Regions from separate parts of the Homo sapiens genome. Here region 2 is linked to region 1. The links are contacts of gene promoters, found by promoter capture Hi-C in blood cells and fetal thymus (Javierre and others, 2016). All regions are on one chromosome and are shown on one strand. The core of a region is centred on a gene start or on the middle of the fragment in contact, and the rest is flanking DNA. Distances in the headings are between cores, read along the strand shown. Region 1 holds the start of RALBP1 (ralA binding protein 1). Region 2 has its middle 19 kb from the start of NDUFV2.

What was found. Contacts are between HindIII fragments. The CHiCAGO score rates a contact against its expected background, and 5 or more counts as called.
Region 2: a contact is called between a fragment that was not itself captured here and the fragment with the promoter of RALBP1 in region 1, in 1 of 17 cell types (neutrophils). The highest score is 6.3, in neutrophils.

What each region holds. Positions count from the first base shown.
Region 1 is chr18:9,473,960-9,481,585 of GRCh38, reverse strand. It overlaps RALBP1 (ralA binding protein 1), which reads right to left and starts at 6,073. Exons shown (of 10, transcript NM_006788.4): 1 at 5,895-6,073. It also overlaps the pseudogene IRX4P1. RefSeq lists enhancers at 5,443-5,502, 5,241-6,109 and a silencer at 5,733-6,142. The HindIII fragment of the contact is 10,934 bases long and covers 5,706-7,626 here.
Region 2 is chr18:9,079,735-9,086,992 of GRCh38, reverse strand. No RefSeq gene overlaps it. Among named protein-coding and RNA genes, the nearest start is that of NDUFV2, 19 kb to the left of the region's middle. The HindIII fragment of the contact is 2,662 bases long and covers 4,218-6,879 here.

The DNA of each region.
Region 1 (7,626 bases), core at 4,824-7,323:
GGCGAGGCTAAGCTATGATGTTAGGTGCATTAAATGCATTTTCCACTTACAATATTTTCGAATTGCTATAGGTTTATCAGGATGTAACTGTGTCGTAAGTAGAGAAAAGTAGAGAAGCATCTGTACTAAAAACCAATGAGACTGCGCGTGGTGGCTCATTGAGCCCAGCACTTTGGGAAGCCGAGAGAGGTGGATCACTTGAGCCCAGGAGTTTGAGACCAGCCTGGGCAATATGGCAAAACCCCGTCTCCACAAAAAAAATACAAAAAATTAGCCAGGCATAGTGGCACACACCCGTAGTCTCAGCTACTCAGGAGGCTGAAGTCGGAGGATCATCTATCTGAGCCTGGGAAGTCAAGCTGCAATAAGCTGTGGCTGCACCACTGCACTCCAGCATGGGTGACAGAGTGTGACTCTGTCTCAAAAAAAAAAAAAAAAAATTAAGTCACACAGACCAATGAATAACTACATGCTACATACCAATGAATTGTATAATTTAAAGGAGTGAATTTTATGGATACGTGAATTATATTTCAATAAAGCTGTTTTAAAAAAGAAAAGCAGGTTCAAGTCTTTGCCATGTTAAAAATCTGTTAACCCTTTATCACCCTCTGCTACCACCTCTTTCTATTCTCCCCTTCATGGCTAAAATTGATTTATTTATTATAATCTACATATGCTTTTCCACTCTCTAACCTCAACTCCTCAACTCAATGAAACCTACCTCGTCCCCCAACCATTCTATCAAAACTGTTCTCACACAGTTATCAAATTGAATAACCTCCTCAATACCAAATCAATAGACTCTTAATAACTTCTTTCGCTCAACTTTTCAAAGCATTTAAAGTATGGCTTTCCTTTTGTTTAGGCCAGGGTCCCACTCTGTCACCCATGCTGCAATGCAGTGGCACAATCACAGCTCACTGCAGCCGCAACCTCCCAGGATCAAGCGATCATCCCACCTCAGCCTCCTGAGTAGCTGGGACCACAGGTGTGCACCACCACAGCCAGCTAATTGCTTTTTTTTTGCAGAGACACCAGTCTCCCTATGTTTCCCAGGCTGGTCTCAAACTCTTTGGCTCAAGCAATCCTCCCACCTCAGCTTCCCAAAGTGCTGGGAGGACAGGTGTGAGCCACTGTGCCTGAGGCTTTCCTTTTTTAAAAAAAAAAATTAATTTCTATTTTTTCTTGAGAGTTGATTGTGAAGTATAACTTCCTTTAAAAATGATCCCAGCCCAATGCAGTGGCTCACACCTGTAATCCTAGCACTTGAGAGGCCAAGGCAGGCAGATCGCTTGAGCCCAGGAGTTCAAGACCAGCCTGGGCAACATGGCAAAACCCCATCCCTACCAAAAATACAAAAATTAGCCAGGTGTGGTGGTATGTGTCTGCAGTCCCAGCTACTTGAGTGGCTGAGGTAGGAGGATGGCTTGAGCCCAGGAGGCGGAGGTTGTAGTGAGCTGTGATGGTGCCAGATCCCACTTTGGCTTCTATGACATTTTCTCATGATTTCTCTACATCTCCAAACACTTAGGAATTTCCTTTCCCAGCTCTTCTTCTATCTGGCTTTAAATGTTCTCCACAGCCTATTTCCAGAACTATTTTATGTTAACAAACTCTTCTTATTTGGTGTTATCTAAATCAAAGAATTCAGATACCACTCATAATATAGCCTGTTATACTGTACTCCAAATCCACATTCACAGTTCCATAGCAGATGATTCCACCTGGATGTTTCACAGATAACTTCCACTCAATATGTTCTGAAGCTAAAATACTGTTTCTCCTCAAATGTGCTTCTCTTCCTGAATTCCCCATCTCAGTATATTTTACCATTGTCTCTTCAATCACCCAAGTTAAAATCCAAGTCATCTTATTCTATTATTTTTCCCTCACTCCCCATATCCAATTGTTGCTGAATCCTATGAATTCTACTTTCTAAATATTTCTATTACCCTCCTCCTCCATAACCCCTCTAACATTGCCTTAGTTTGGACCCTTATTTCTCACTTCGATTAGTGCAAAAACCTCCTAAACAGTCTTTCTACATCCATTCTTACCTTCTCTCCATCCCTTCTGAAATCCTTACTCTACAATTCCAGAATGATCTTTCTAAAATAAAAATCTTGGCCGGACATGGTGGCTTACACGTGTAATCCCAGCACTTTAGGAGGCCGAGGAGGGTGGACTGCCTGAGCTCAAAGTTTAAGACCAGCCTGGGCAACACAGCAAAACTCCATCTCTACAAAAAAAAAAATACCAAAAAATTAGCCAGGTGTGGTGGCGTTCACCTGTGGTCCCAGCTACTCGTGAGGCTGAGGTGGGAGGATCGCTGGAGCCTGGGAGGTCGAGGCTGCAGTGAGCCATGACGGAGTGCGGTGAGTGCCACTTCATTTCAGCCTGGGTGACACAGTGAGACCTTATCTCAAAAAAGTAAAAAAAAAATAAAAAGAAAAATCTTATCATGTCTCTCTGTTCATTAAAATACATAAACCCTATTGTTATCTACAGGAAAAAATGGTAAGGTCCTTGGAATGGCACGCAATACTTTTGAGGATACCTGCAACCTCATCTTCTGCTACTTATCACCACAACTAATGCTACAGCTACAGAAAACAACTTCCCATTCTCTTCCATATTCTGTGCTGACTGCACCCCTGGCCCGCGCGTGCCTTTCCGCCTGCCGCGCCCCAGGACACCCCAGCTCTGGGCGCCACCAGGGAGCTGCTCGCCCTGACCAAGGCCGGCGGCAAACCCTTCTGCGCCTGAGGCAGGCTGGCCTCTAGCTCGGTAGGAAACCCGCGCTCAGGCGGACAGCGCCGACTCTTTTTACTGAGTTTCCAGAGGAAGACTAGCCCAGCTACCGCGAAGCTGCCAATCCACCGGAGAGGGGGCTTCTGAACCCGGACTCCTGGGAACGTCGACAAGCACGGCACTACTACACCGAGGCCTCCACCGCCTGGGCCTGAGCACGGCCGGGCCATTCCCAAACTCGGGACGCAGGAGAGGATCTCGGAGAAGAAGAGGCCACCCTGAAGCACACAGTTTACGTCAAAAGTTTACATGGAGAAGGCGGTTCCGTTCTGAAGCGCGGTCTGCTGTCCTTTTGGGCGCGAGGCATGTGGTGTTCGCTGTGAAGCCTCCTGGGCCTGTTGGTCCTCCGATTTCATCCTCGGGACATAATGCTTACCAACAGTACTTGCACTGAGTTGACACTCGTGCACTCTTGACTCCAGATGTTTTTCAAAATGTATGTTCACACCAATAATTGCCTACTTCAGAGGCTAATAAGACAAAACCAATAAAACTGAGTGATGGTGTCTGTATTGGGAAAAAAAAAAGTGTTCCATGTTCTTTCTCACCTACGTTTCTGCCCACCTTTCCCTCTAAAAGTTCCTTCCCCATCCCTGCCCTAGCCCCCCAATTTCTGCATTAGTCATGACTAAGCCTTCTTTAAGCTTAAGGACATAAAATATACAGTACCTAATACAGTGCCTGACCTATAGCAGAGGGTTAAAAATGGGCTGAGCTGGCTTAGGTCTCTTCTTTGTCCTCTCAATGACTCCTATTTGCTTATAAAATAAAATTGTAATTATTCTGATGGTCTGCAAGATCCATAATTTGGTCTCTGCCTATCTCCCCAGTTTCAGGTCTTGCCACCACCCTGTATTATACTTGCTATTTTTGCAGATGCTACTCTCTAATTTTAGACTCCCATGCTTTTTCTCACACTGCTCCTTCTACCTAAATGCCCATTCTTTCTATGCCTGTACACTCCTGATTTTCATCACCTTCTACATAGTTTTTCCTTACAGTTTCCCTCTTCTTCAGCTCTTTTCTTCACTTTAAGAAACTGACCACTATCTCCTTTGTACATCCACTGTACCCGCATATGTTCTTCAATCAAAACAATCTTGTACTTGTTGACAGTTAAAGTAAGAGATAAGGTTCAACTACCCTGAAGGCAGGAACACTGCCTTCTGTATCTTTAAGTCCTCTTCACCTGGTCACAGTACTTTCTACATAGTAATTCCTGTATTCTAAATAATCTGCATTTTTCCTTGTACCCTCTTATACAAACTAACATAAGTTTCTATCAGGGATCTTTCAAAACAGAAACAATATTCTTTTGGGTTACATGCTGGGCCCGATCTCTTCTTGCCAAGCAAACAACTATGCAAATATAACTGTACAAATTAAAGTTATTATGCACTTTCTGATACCACTTTCCTATTCTAAATTAGGGGAGAAATAGTCTGGATAAGATCCATAATTAGAAACAATATCCTGAAGAGAAAGCAAACTAAGTTGTATTACATTGTTTCGAGATACCTTGTTTAAAGAGTCACTTCTCAAAAGCTACTACTGTTGGCAGGGCGCGGTGGCACACGCCTGTAATCCCAGCGCTTTGGGAGGCCTAGGCGGGCAGATCACCTGAGGTCGGGAGTTCAAGACCAGCCTGACCAACATGGAGAAAATGTCTCTACTAAAAATATAAAATTAGCCGGGCGTGATGGCGCATGCCTGTAATCCCCTCAGGAGGCTGAGGCAGCAGAATCGTTTGAACCCAGGAGGCAGAGGCTGTGGTGAGCTGAGATCATGCCATTGCACTCCAACCTGGGCAACAAGAGCGAAACTCTGTCTCAAAAAATAAAAAACTAAAAAAAAAAAAAAAAAGCTACTGTTAACTAACCTACCCCACTTGGATCTACCAGATACTTTGAATGAGAGGTGGAAACCACTCTACTGACCTCCTTCCTACCCCTACTACCGCCACTCCAGCTTACAGTAATTATTTTCACAAAGACAGAAAGGAGTTATCAAATGACCACAATAACTCTAAAAACAGAAAGTGAGGTGATCTTTCTTATTCACAGTCCCACTTATTCATTTAGAAATGCTGAGCACCAAAACAAAACCTTATCACAAGTTCAGTATTTCGTTAATAACTGCCAAGTATAATGGAATACTCCCCAAAGTACTGCAGCATTAGAACATGACCACTCCACTAAATTAAAAATTCAGCGAAAGCTTTTCTAACAAGGCTGGATGGAGCACTAACTCAACGGCCAAACGGCTGCACTTCCTGTATATGCACGTTCAAAACACCTCGAATTAACATGCTAGGGACCTTGAAGAATTGTACTAGGCCTTGCTCAAGAGGAAGGCTTTGTAATACTGAATCCCAAAACTTGAAACAGCAGAATTACTTCAGGGAAGACGGAGGTGTTAAATATTCTGTAAAACCTGTTTCACTCTCACAACGATCAGTTTTAAAAAAAAGAGGGAGAACACTGACCTCATTAAGAGCATTCTGACAACACACATAGTTGAACATGAGTTGTGAAAAGAATTTTCAACTTCAGATCTGTCTGTCCATTCCCACTGAAACCTGAAGGAAGGATCGCAGCACCCAAAGGCGCCCACTGCTCAGTGCCAGCGGTGGGCGACACCAGGAGCCTGTCCTGGTCCCCTGGGTAAGCCCTGGAGCCTGGCCACTATGCCGGGCACGATCCACCAACCGTGAGGGCTGGGTCCCCTAGCCTCTGTCCAGGCGCCCCCCAAGAGCTTCCCCGAGGCCTGGGGACTCCTAACTCTCCACCCCCGGCCCCCGAGAGCACCACAAACGAGGACGCCACGAAGGGAGGCCCGTCGGCCAGTGGGAGGGACGCACGGCCAAGGGGGGCGAAAACTGGGGCGAAGCTTTCCGGGGAGGAACCCACGCCAGGGGCAGCCACGCCCCCCACCCCCAACTTCAAACCCGAGCGCTGCGAGCACCGAGCCCCACACGCTGCCTGACAGACGCGGGCGCGAGGCCGGCGCGGGAGAGGGTTCCTCGGGCACTCCAGGGGTATCGCCGCGACCCTAGCACGCGACCGCTCCCTGCGACTGACCTGTGCCTGCCGCCGCGCGACCGTCCGCCCCGCCGCAGCCTCCGCCTCCTCGCGCTCACGCTGCCGCCGCAGCCACCGGAGCCGCCTCCTGCGCTGCGCCCCAGGCCGGCCTCGGGCGCCCCATTCCCACCCCGCCCAGCCTCTGCCTGTTTACAATGATTGGGACGGAACGGGACGAGGCGGTCCAGCGCGCACGCGCATTCCCTCCTCCCGCCGCAGCCGGCTTCCCGGATCCTCCTCTCCGCTCAGACGGCTGAAGCCGTCAAGGGCAGGCGACCTGGGCTCTCGCGCGGGGCGCGCTGGGAGGCGTAGTTCCCAAGGCCCCGGCGTCCAGCCAGCCCGAAGGCCTCTCGCCAAGGAAGCAAACTACAACACCCAGGAGGCACCGCGCCCCCTTCGTCCCCAGGCTCGCTGAGGAGACTGAAGAAGAGCGCGAGAGAACGCGCCGAGGGCCAGTGCTCTGCAGGCGCCTGCGCAGTCGGTGGCCTTGCGGGTTTCGGGGACGGACGGCTTACCCCGGTGTGGTGCTGGCGAAGGTGGCTCGCGGGCATCTCCTGCAACGGCCTTGAGGATGGAAAGGGCTTTCCTCTCCACGCTCTGGCCAGCCTGCGCCTCAGCTCCCGAAGTTGAGAGCTTTCCTTGCGCCAGCGTGCTTTAGTCGTTCCAACCAGTTAAACCAGACTGGGGGCCGCCCGGCTGGCCGCTGGGTGGGGCGGCTGCCCCGCCTTCGACTGGGTGTGGGATTGGAGGAAAGAGCGCCGTGGGCCTGTAGGGATAGGCGGGAATAAACCTCTGTCGGGAACATCCACGGAATTCCTGAAGCGGGTGTGGGCTTCTGCAGGGCTTCAGCGCGCCCCCGGCTCAGCAGTTACCGAGCAGCCCCCGAGGAAAGCTGCCCAGTCCGTGTTTGGCTGGCAGTAGAGATAACTGAATTTCTTCGAGAAGCCTTTCACCCAGGCTTGTTGAGTTGCTCTGCTAATGCGTAGCGAAGGCTGGAAACGGCTTCAGCAGTCTTCGTGTTTTCTGAAATGTGGCAGTTTATTAGGGGAGAGGAGGGACTTGGAATAGACGACCCTACCTGTCACTCGCATTCCTACGTGCAGCACTCTGTGGCACTTCGTTGCCCGTTTAGATTGGCCGCTGCTATCCATCTTGCTCTCTGCTCCCACATCAGCTTTCCTCAAAGCGGGCGGTAAATTTGTCCCTAGTACTCTGCGCTCCCTACTCAGTAAAGTTCAACCCCTGGGGCCTTAGATTCATTCAGGGGCCTCCCACGAGTGGATACGGGATGGTCTGAGGTAGCCATTGGTCTTTGACTTTCGGAAAAGCCTTCTCATGGCTCCTCTCGCAGTAGAACAGTCTTCTCTGACCACTGGGTTGGGCAGGTGAGCATGGCAGTGACAATTCTCTGCCTGTGACAGCACTGATTCGGCCAAGGGGCAGGCACTGATCCACGCTGGGCCTTATGGAGGCCTTGCCTGAAGCTGCTATGTGGATGCAGGAGGGGAGCAGAGGGAGTTTTCTACTGAGGCAATTGCTGATGGACGTGTTTCTTGCAACATCGAGTGGCCTAGCCAAAGGTGAGGGTGTGAAAGAGAAGAAAGGAGAAATGGAAAGGGAGAAAGAGCTGGCAGAATGTAGACCGTGGTTTCATTTGGAGGGCATGGTTTGTGGAGCTCTTTAAGTGCTGTGAGCATGTGAGCCTAAGTGGGTGAGCCCACTCATTCATTGA
Region 2 (7,258 bases), core at 4,299-6,798, 390 kb after region 1:
GATAAATATTGTAGATAATCAGATGTACATACCATGGTATCTCATTTTAATTTTTTTCTCTAATTACAGTGAGGCTGAGCACACTTTTGTGATTTTGGTGATTTTGTTTTCCTTTTCCGCTTCCTGTTCACATTTTTGCCCATTAAACAAAATTTTTTTTGCTTATTAAACAAAATTTTTTTGCTTATTAATGTTTCCCTTGTAACTAATACTTTGTTATACATGTTATACCTTTTCTTGGTTCTGTGGCTTGTATTGTAACTTCAATTTTAAATTAAGTTTTTAATTTTAGTGTCATCTCTAAAATACAAGCAAATTTATAAATCTTTCCCTTTATAGGCCAGGTGTGGTGGATCAGGCCTATAATCCCAGCACTTTGGGAGGCCAAGGAGGGCAAATCACTTGAGCTCAGGATTTGAGACCACCCTGAGCACCATGGTAAAACCCTGTCTCTACCAAAAATACAAAAAAAAAAAAAAGCCAGGCATGGTGGTGCATGTCTGTGGTTCCAGCTGCTTGGGAGGCTGAGGCAAGAGGATCACTTGAGCCCAGGTAGCAGAGGTTGCAGTGAGCTGACACACTGTGAGACCCTGTCTCAAAAAAGAACTTTTCCTTTATGATTCATGTCTTTTCTGTGTTAAGAAAATTTGCTTAAACTAGTCACAATAACAAAGACATGGAATCAACTGACATACCTATCAACAGTGTATTGTGTAAAGAAAATATGGTACATATATACCATGGAATACTATGCAGCCATAAAAAAGAATGAAATCTCGTTATTTGAAGCAACATGGATACAGCTGGTCATTATCCTAAGTGAATTCATGCAGGAACAGAAAACAAGATACCACATGTTCTCACAAATAGGAGCTAAACATTGGGTACACATGAACATAAAGATGGGAAGGAACAGTAGACACTGAGGACTACTTGATATGGGAGAGAGGGAGGGGGGTCGAGGGCTCAAAAGCTACCTATTTGGTACTATGCTCACTACCCGGGTAATGCGATGATTCATACTATCATGCAATACACTCATATAATGAACCTGCACATGTACCCCTTAATCTAAAATAAAATTTGAAATTGGCTGGGTGTGGTGGCTCACACCTGTAATCCCAGCACTTTGGAGGCAGAGGTGGGGAGATCGCTTGAGTCCAGGAATTCGAGACCACCCTGGGCAACATAGGGACACCCTGTTTCAACAAAAAATAGTAATAATAAAATACCCAGGCCTGGTAGCTCACCACACGCCTAGTCCCAGCTACTCCAGAAAGTAAGGTGGAAGGATTGCGTGGGCCCATGAGGTAGCGGCTGCAGTGAGCTGTGATTGTGCCTCTGCAATCTAGCCTCAGTGACAGAGTGACACCTTGTCTTAAAAGAAGACGTTTTGCTTCATTCAAGGTCATGAAGATAATCTTATAATAATATAAAGTGTTCGTTTTATATATTTTCTACAGTTCTATCTGTAACTTACCTGTGAATAGTGTCCGTTATGGATCTAATATTATTTATTTAAGTATAGGAAGCCAATTTTTTCTATGCAGTTATTTTTACAATGGAAATATCTTTAATGGGTCTTTCTGATGATAGAAGTAATGATCATTGTTAAAATTCAAATAATAATTGGATGGGCATGGTGGCACACACCTGTAATCCCAGCACTTTGGGAGGCCGAGGCTGATGGATTGCTTGAGCTCAGGAGTTTGAGACCAACCTGGCCAACATTGCAAAACCCTGTCTCTACTAAAAATACAAAAATTAGCAGGGCGTGGCTGTGCATGCCTGTAGTTCCAGCTACTCAGGAGGCTGAAGCAGGAGAATCGCTTAAACCCAGGAGGTGGAGGTTGCAGTGAGCTGAGATCACACCACTGCACTTCAGCCTGGGCAACAGAGCAAGACTCTGTCTCAGAAAAAAAAATATATACACACACACACACACACACACACACACACACACACACACACACACAGACACGCACACACACACACACGCACATATATACATACATACATACATATATATATATATATATATATATATATATATATATATGTATGTATGTAGAGAGAGAGAGAGAGAGAAATATATTAAAAATCACCGGAGGCCAGGCATGGTGGCTCACGCCTGTAATCCCAGCACACTTTGGGAGGCCAAGGCAGGCAGATTACGAGGTCAGGAGATCGAGAAGATCCTGGCTAACACTGTGAAACCCCATCTCTACTAAAAATACAAAAAAATTAGCCGGGCATGGTGGCACGTGCCTGTAGTCCCAGCTACTCAGGAGGCTGAGGCAAGAGAATCACTTGAACCCGGGAAGTGGAGGTTGCAGTGAGCTGAGATCACGCCACTGCACTCCAGCCTGGGCAAGAGAGACAGAGCCAGAGCCAGAGACACCCGGAATTACAGGCGTGAGCCACCTCTCCTGGCCACAAGTTTTCTTTCTTTCTTTTCTTTTCTTTTTTTTTTTTTTTGAGACGGAGTCTCGCTCTTGTTGCCCAGGCTGGAGTGCAGTGGCACGATCTTGGCTCACCGCAACCTCTGCCTCCAGGGTTCAAGCAATTATCCTGCTTCAGCTTCCTGAGTAGCTGGGATTACAGGCATGCACCACCATGCCTGGCTAATTTTTGTATTTTTACTAGAGACGGGGTTTCTGCATGTCAGTCAGGCTGGTCTCGAACTCCCAACCTCAGGTGATCTGCCAGCCTCGGCCTCCCAAAGTGCTGGGATTACAGGCATGAGCCACTGTGCCCGGCCCCACAAGTTCTTTTAGTATCACATCTAGTATGCCAGGTACATCTCACTAAATGTTTTCAAATTAAGACCATCAGTATATCCTCTTACAAATAAATTATTTTAAATTTTGTCATAGAAGTATGCAAGGAAAAACAACCAGTTCTTAGAAAAGCATGATATAACTTACTTTCCTAGAATGTGAAACGGGAAATACACGAATTACTCTAATTTGGAGGTTCTACGGAAGGAAGTCATTTATTGCATGTTGCCATCATTGAGAAACAGATGATTATCTTTCTCCTGCACATGAATACCATCTTTCAGTATGTTAATACTTGCCATTCTTCATGAACTTCATAGTTAAATTCTTCCATGTGTACATTAAAATATATTTGATCTGTGAATTAAAAAAATTATCAATACCACACATAGACTACATTTATCAGCCCTTAAGATGAGAGTCCTTTTGTTTTCTGCCCCTAGGTCCACTTTGATGTCAAATGAACACTGATGGGGTTATTCAGTTTTTATGTAGACATCCTACAATAGATACAGTATGGGTTTTTGCAAATATATTGAGTCATTACTCATTTCTCTTCCAAGGTAGTTTAAAATGCTTTAAATGATTATTCAGTATAGAGTTCAGTTATAAATTGTGGTACTGTATGAAGAGATTTGGAAGAGCTATATAAGGATTAAATCCTTCACCTCAAATATAGTGATATAGAGAAGCTAAAAAATAAGATACATGTCTTATAATTTTGCCTTGTCTCAGTTCTGTGTCTTCCCCTTTTGACACAACCTAAAACCAAATTGCCAAGAAAAGGAAACAACTACCAAAAAGCACAGCTGGTGCGTTAGTGGGACTGAATTCACGGCACCAGTCACTCATGAATTTGTGTAGACACAGGTGGATCTGAAGGACTTCTCTTCAAGGCACATGCAGTTTAGCCAGGCACTGACCAGCTCCAAATTCTCCTTGACCACTTGCTACCTGAATACTCAAGGCCCACTTGCTGCTCAATCCAAAATTCACTCAGGCCACTAGACTGTTCTACTACCTTAACATGTTAAGTTTGGAAAGCTGTTTTCCTCGAGAACACTCCCAAGGAGAAGAGCAAATACTGCTCATATGTGTTTCTGAAACAACTTCAAGCGGCTTTTAGCAGGCAAAAATTTTCCATCGTGTGGGTGTTTTTGGTGCCATCTGAGAGATACTGTGGTTTTCAACCAGCTTGGTGCTATTACTACAATCACTTTACCTGACCTCTTTCTTTAAACAGGCATAAGACAAGGCTGAGCTCATACTTTCAGGAAAGCCACTCTGCCACCTAAGCAGAACTAACACTGTTAGAAGAGCATGCAAATTGTAATTTAAAAAAATCCATAGGCCAGCAGTTTCTTTTAACCACAGTGGCTTTTCTCCCCCTCCTGCTCATTCTGCTGATATAGCAGCATTGGTGTGCATGGCAAAGCTTTAGCTTTCTGCTCTAATTTGCTGTTCCTCTGATGAGAATTGTGCATTTGAGGATGCTTTGTTTCGTGTGTGTTAAGTGTTGCACATCCAGCTGGATTTTAAGTTTCTGAAGGCATGGACCCCCTCCCTTTTATCCGTCTCTTCTATAGGACCCAATATGGTATTCTATTGTAGGTGCTCAATTATTGTATGTTGAATGAATGTATGATTGAATCAGTGTGTGACTGAACAGATATTTCCAGTCTCCCATTTTATAAACTCAACAGTGCAAACTGGATGGGATTAATTTTAATCAGAAAGAAAGGTGTATGGCAATGCAGAAATAAAATGATGGTGAGAATAAGAAATAAAGATGAGATAAATATAAGAAATATATTTATATATTATAATCAGTTTAATGAGAAATAAAGATGAGAATAAGAAACAGACTAAGGGAGGAGCTAAAGAGTTCACTAATTCCACAGTAAAGGTGGTTTAGATGTGTAGATGACTGAATCTATGCAGTGGAGTATATATATATGTGTGTGTGTGTATACATATAATATGTATATAGATTTAAATACGTATGTATTTATGCGCCAGCATGGGCAACATGTCTCTACCAAAAATACAAATTAGCCAGTCATAGTGACACGTGCCTGTGGTCCCAGTTACTCGGAAGGCTGAGGTGGGAGGATTGCTTGAACCCAAGAGGTGGTGGTTGCAGTGAGCCAAGATTGCATCACTGCACTCCAGCCTGGGTGACAGAGTTGAGACCCTGTCTCAAAAATAAATGAATAAAATAAATAAATAAATATGTATTCATGTAATTATCTGTATACTTTATATATTATATACATATCTACAATGCATGATATATGATGTATGTATATGCATATATATTATATATGTGTATATATGTACGTGTTTGTGTGTATAGATGTGTATATGTGCATACACACACACACACACACACACACACACACATATATATACTTTAAAGAATTTATACCAAAGTTCCTCTTAGAGAACTGTCTTTGTCTGGAAAAATGCCTTGATTAGCCACTTGTGGGTGGAAAGACCCTGGGGCCACTGGATGAAAGAATATAAGATAGCAAAGTTATAGCTAAACCACTCCACATCTAAACATCAACAATAATTTGTGAGTGGGAGTAGAACAGTCAAGAGAAGAGAGGGAGCCGGGCGCGGTGGCTCATGCCTGTTATCCCAGCACTTTGGGAGGCCAAGGCAGGCGGATCACTTGAGGTCAGGAGTTCGAAACCAGCCTGGCCACCATGGCGAAATCCCGTCTCTACTAAAAATATTTAAAAAATTAGCTGGGCATGGTGGCACATGCCTGTAATCCCAGCTACTCAGGAGACTGAGGCAGGAGAATTGCTTGAACCCAGGAGGTGGAGGCTGCAGTGAGCCTAGCTCGCACCACTGCACTCCAGCCTGGGTCAAAGAGTGTAACTTCCAGAAACTGGTCTCAAAAAAAAAATTAAATTAAAAAAATTAATTAAAAAAAAAGAGAGGAGAGGGGAGAAAAATTAAAGATACAGATATGGGATTGTACAAGCCTTTGCCTTGGGAAAGTGGTTTGGGATAAATCAAAGAAAAGAGGTTGAGTTCCAGAACGAGATTGTCCCAGAGCAGAAAAGGATGACAACAGCAGAAGTAGACACCAAGAGAGGCGTGCATTCAGCAAGAGCAGGATTGTGGAACTGGAAGTGAACATGTGTCTGCAAAACCTCAGGAATTAACATAAACCCAGGGAAATAATTAGACCCCTCACAGAGCTTGGGAAGAAGCCTCAAGCAAATTTTAATTAAATCTTAAAAGGTACTCTTATCGGCCGGGCACAGTGGCTCACACCTGTAATCCCAGCACTTTGGGAGGCCGAGGCGTGTGGATCACCTGAGGGCAGGAGTTCGAGACCAGCCTGGTCAACATGGTGAAACCCCGTCTCTACTAAAAATACAAAAATTAGCCAGGCGTGGTGGCAGGCGCCTGTAATCCCAGCTACTCGGGAGGCTGAGACTGGAGAATCGCTTGAACCCAGGAGGCGGAGGTTGCAGTGAGCTGAGATCATGCCATCACACTGCAGGCTGGGGGACAGAGCGAGACTTTGTCTCAAAAAAAAAAAAAAGGTTGCTCTTATCTCAATTTATGTCTCAGAGTTCCTTAAATCCAGATTTAGGGCAAGTAATTTGGAAACCCTCTCTTCCTTCCAACCGATAAGTTTCTAATACTATCTTCTTAAAGCCCAGAGTTACAAAACAAACAAAAGCAATAAAATGAACAAATAAACAAAGCCCACATCCTCTTTCAGGGGTTGTTAGCGATGGATATTTGACCTGGGAAGACATCACAAGCAACCACAGTCCTGATTCCAGTGCCAAATCTGAGCAGGCCCAGCACTCCACACAGAACGTCCCTGATTCAAACTGGTGCCCAACAGGCCTTTCCTCAGTAGCATGGCCAGGTTAGGGCACCAAAGGGTTAAACTGTGACAATGTGGCAGGTTGGTAAAAATGTTCATAACCTGGTATTGAAATCTTTTCACCTTTTTCTCTGGGGCTATTTTAGTTAATACATGAAAATGCCAGGGTAATTGTTACACTTCTCTGATGCAGATGGTTATTGTTCCTGTTTTACAAGTAAGAGAACTTTAACATAAGCTTGCTCAGCATGCCCAGAGCAGGATTCTGAGTGAGGAATTATGATTTCCTAGGCTGGGCTTGGTTCACTGGACACCATTGTCCTCTACAAAGGGTTTATTGTGAAACGTTTACAAAAGCACTTTTAGGAGGAGTTCAATGTCTATTTCTATCTTGGTGAAAATGTGGGTGAATCTGTGTGAGTGGTGGTAGAGTCCCCTTGCAGAAGGGAGAAGGGAATGAACACTGGCTGTGTTCTTACCGTGAGCCCGGGACCAGAGCTCTTTCCTTACGCTCTCTGCACTTTCTGAAAGATAAAGCAGCAGTGACAAACTCTGGGTCGATGTAATATTCTATAACTTAATAGGACACGTGCAAGATACGCATTTGTCAAAAAGCATC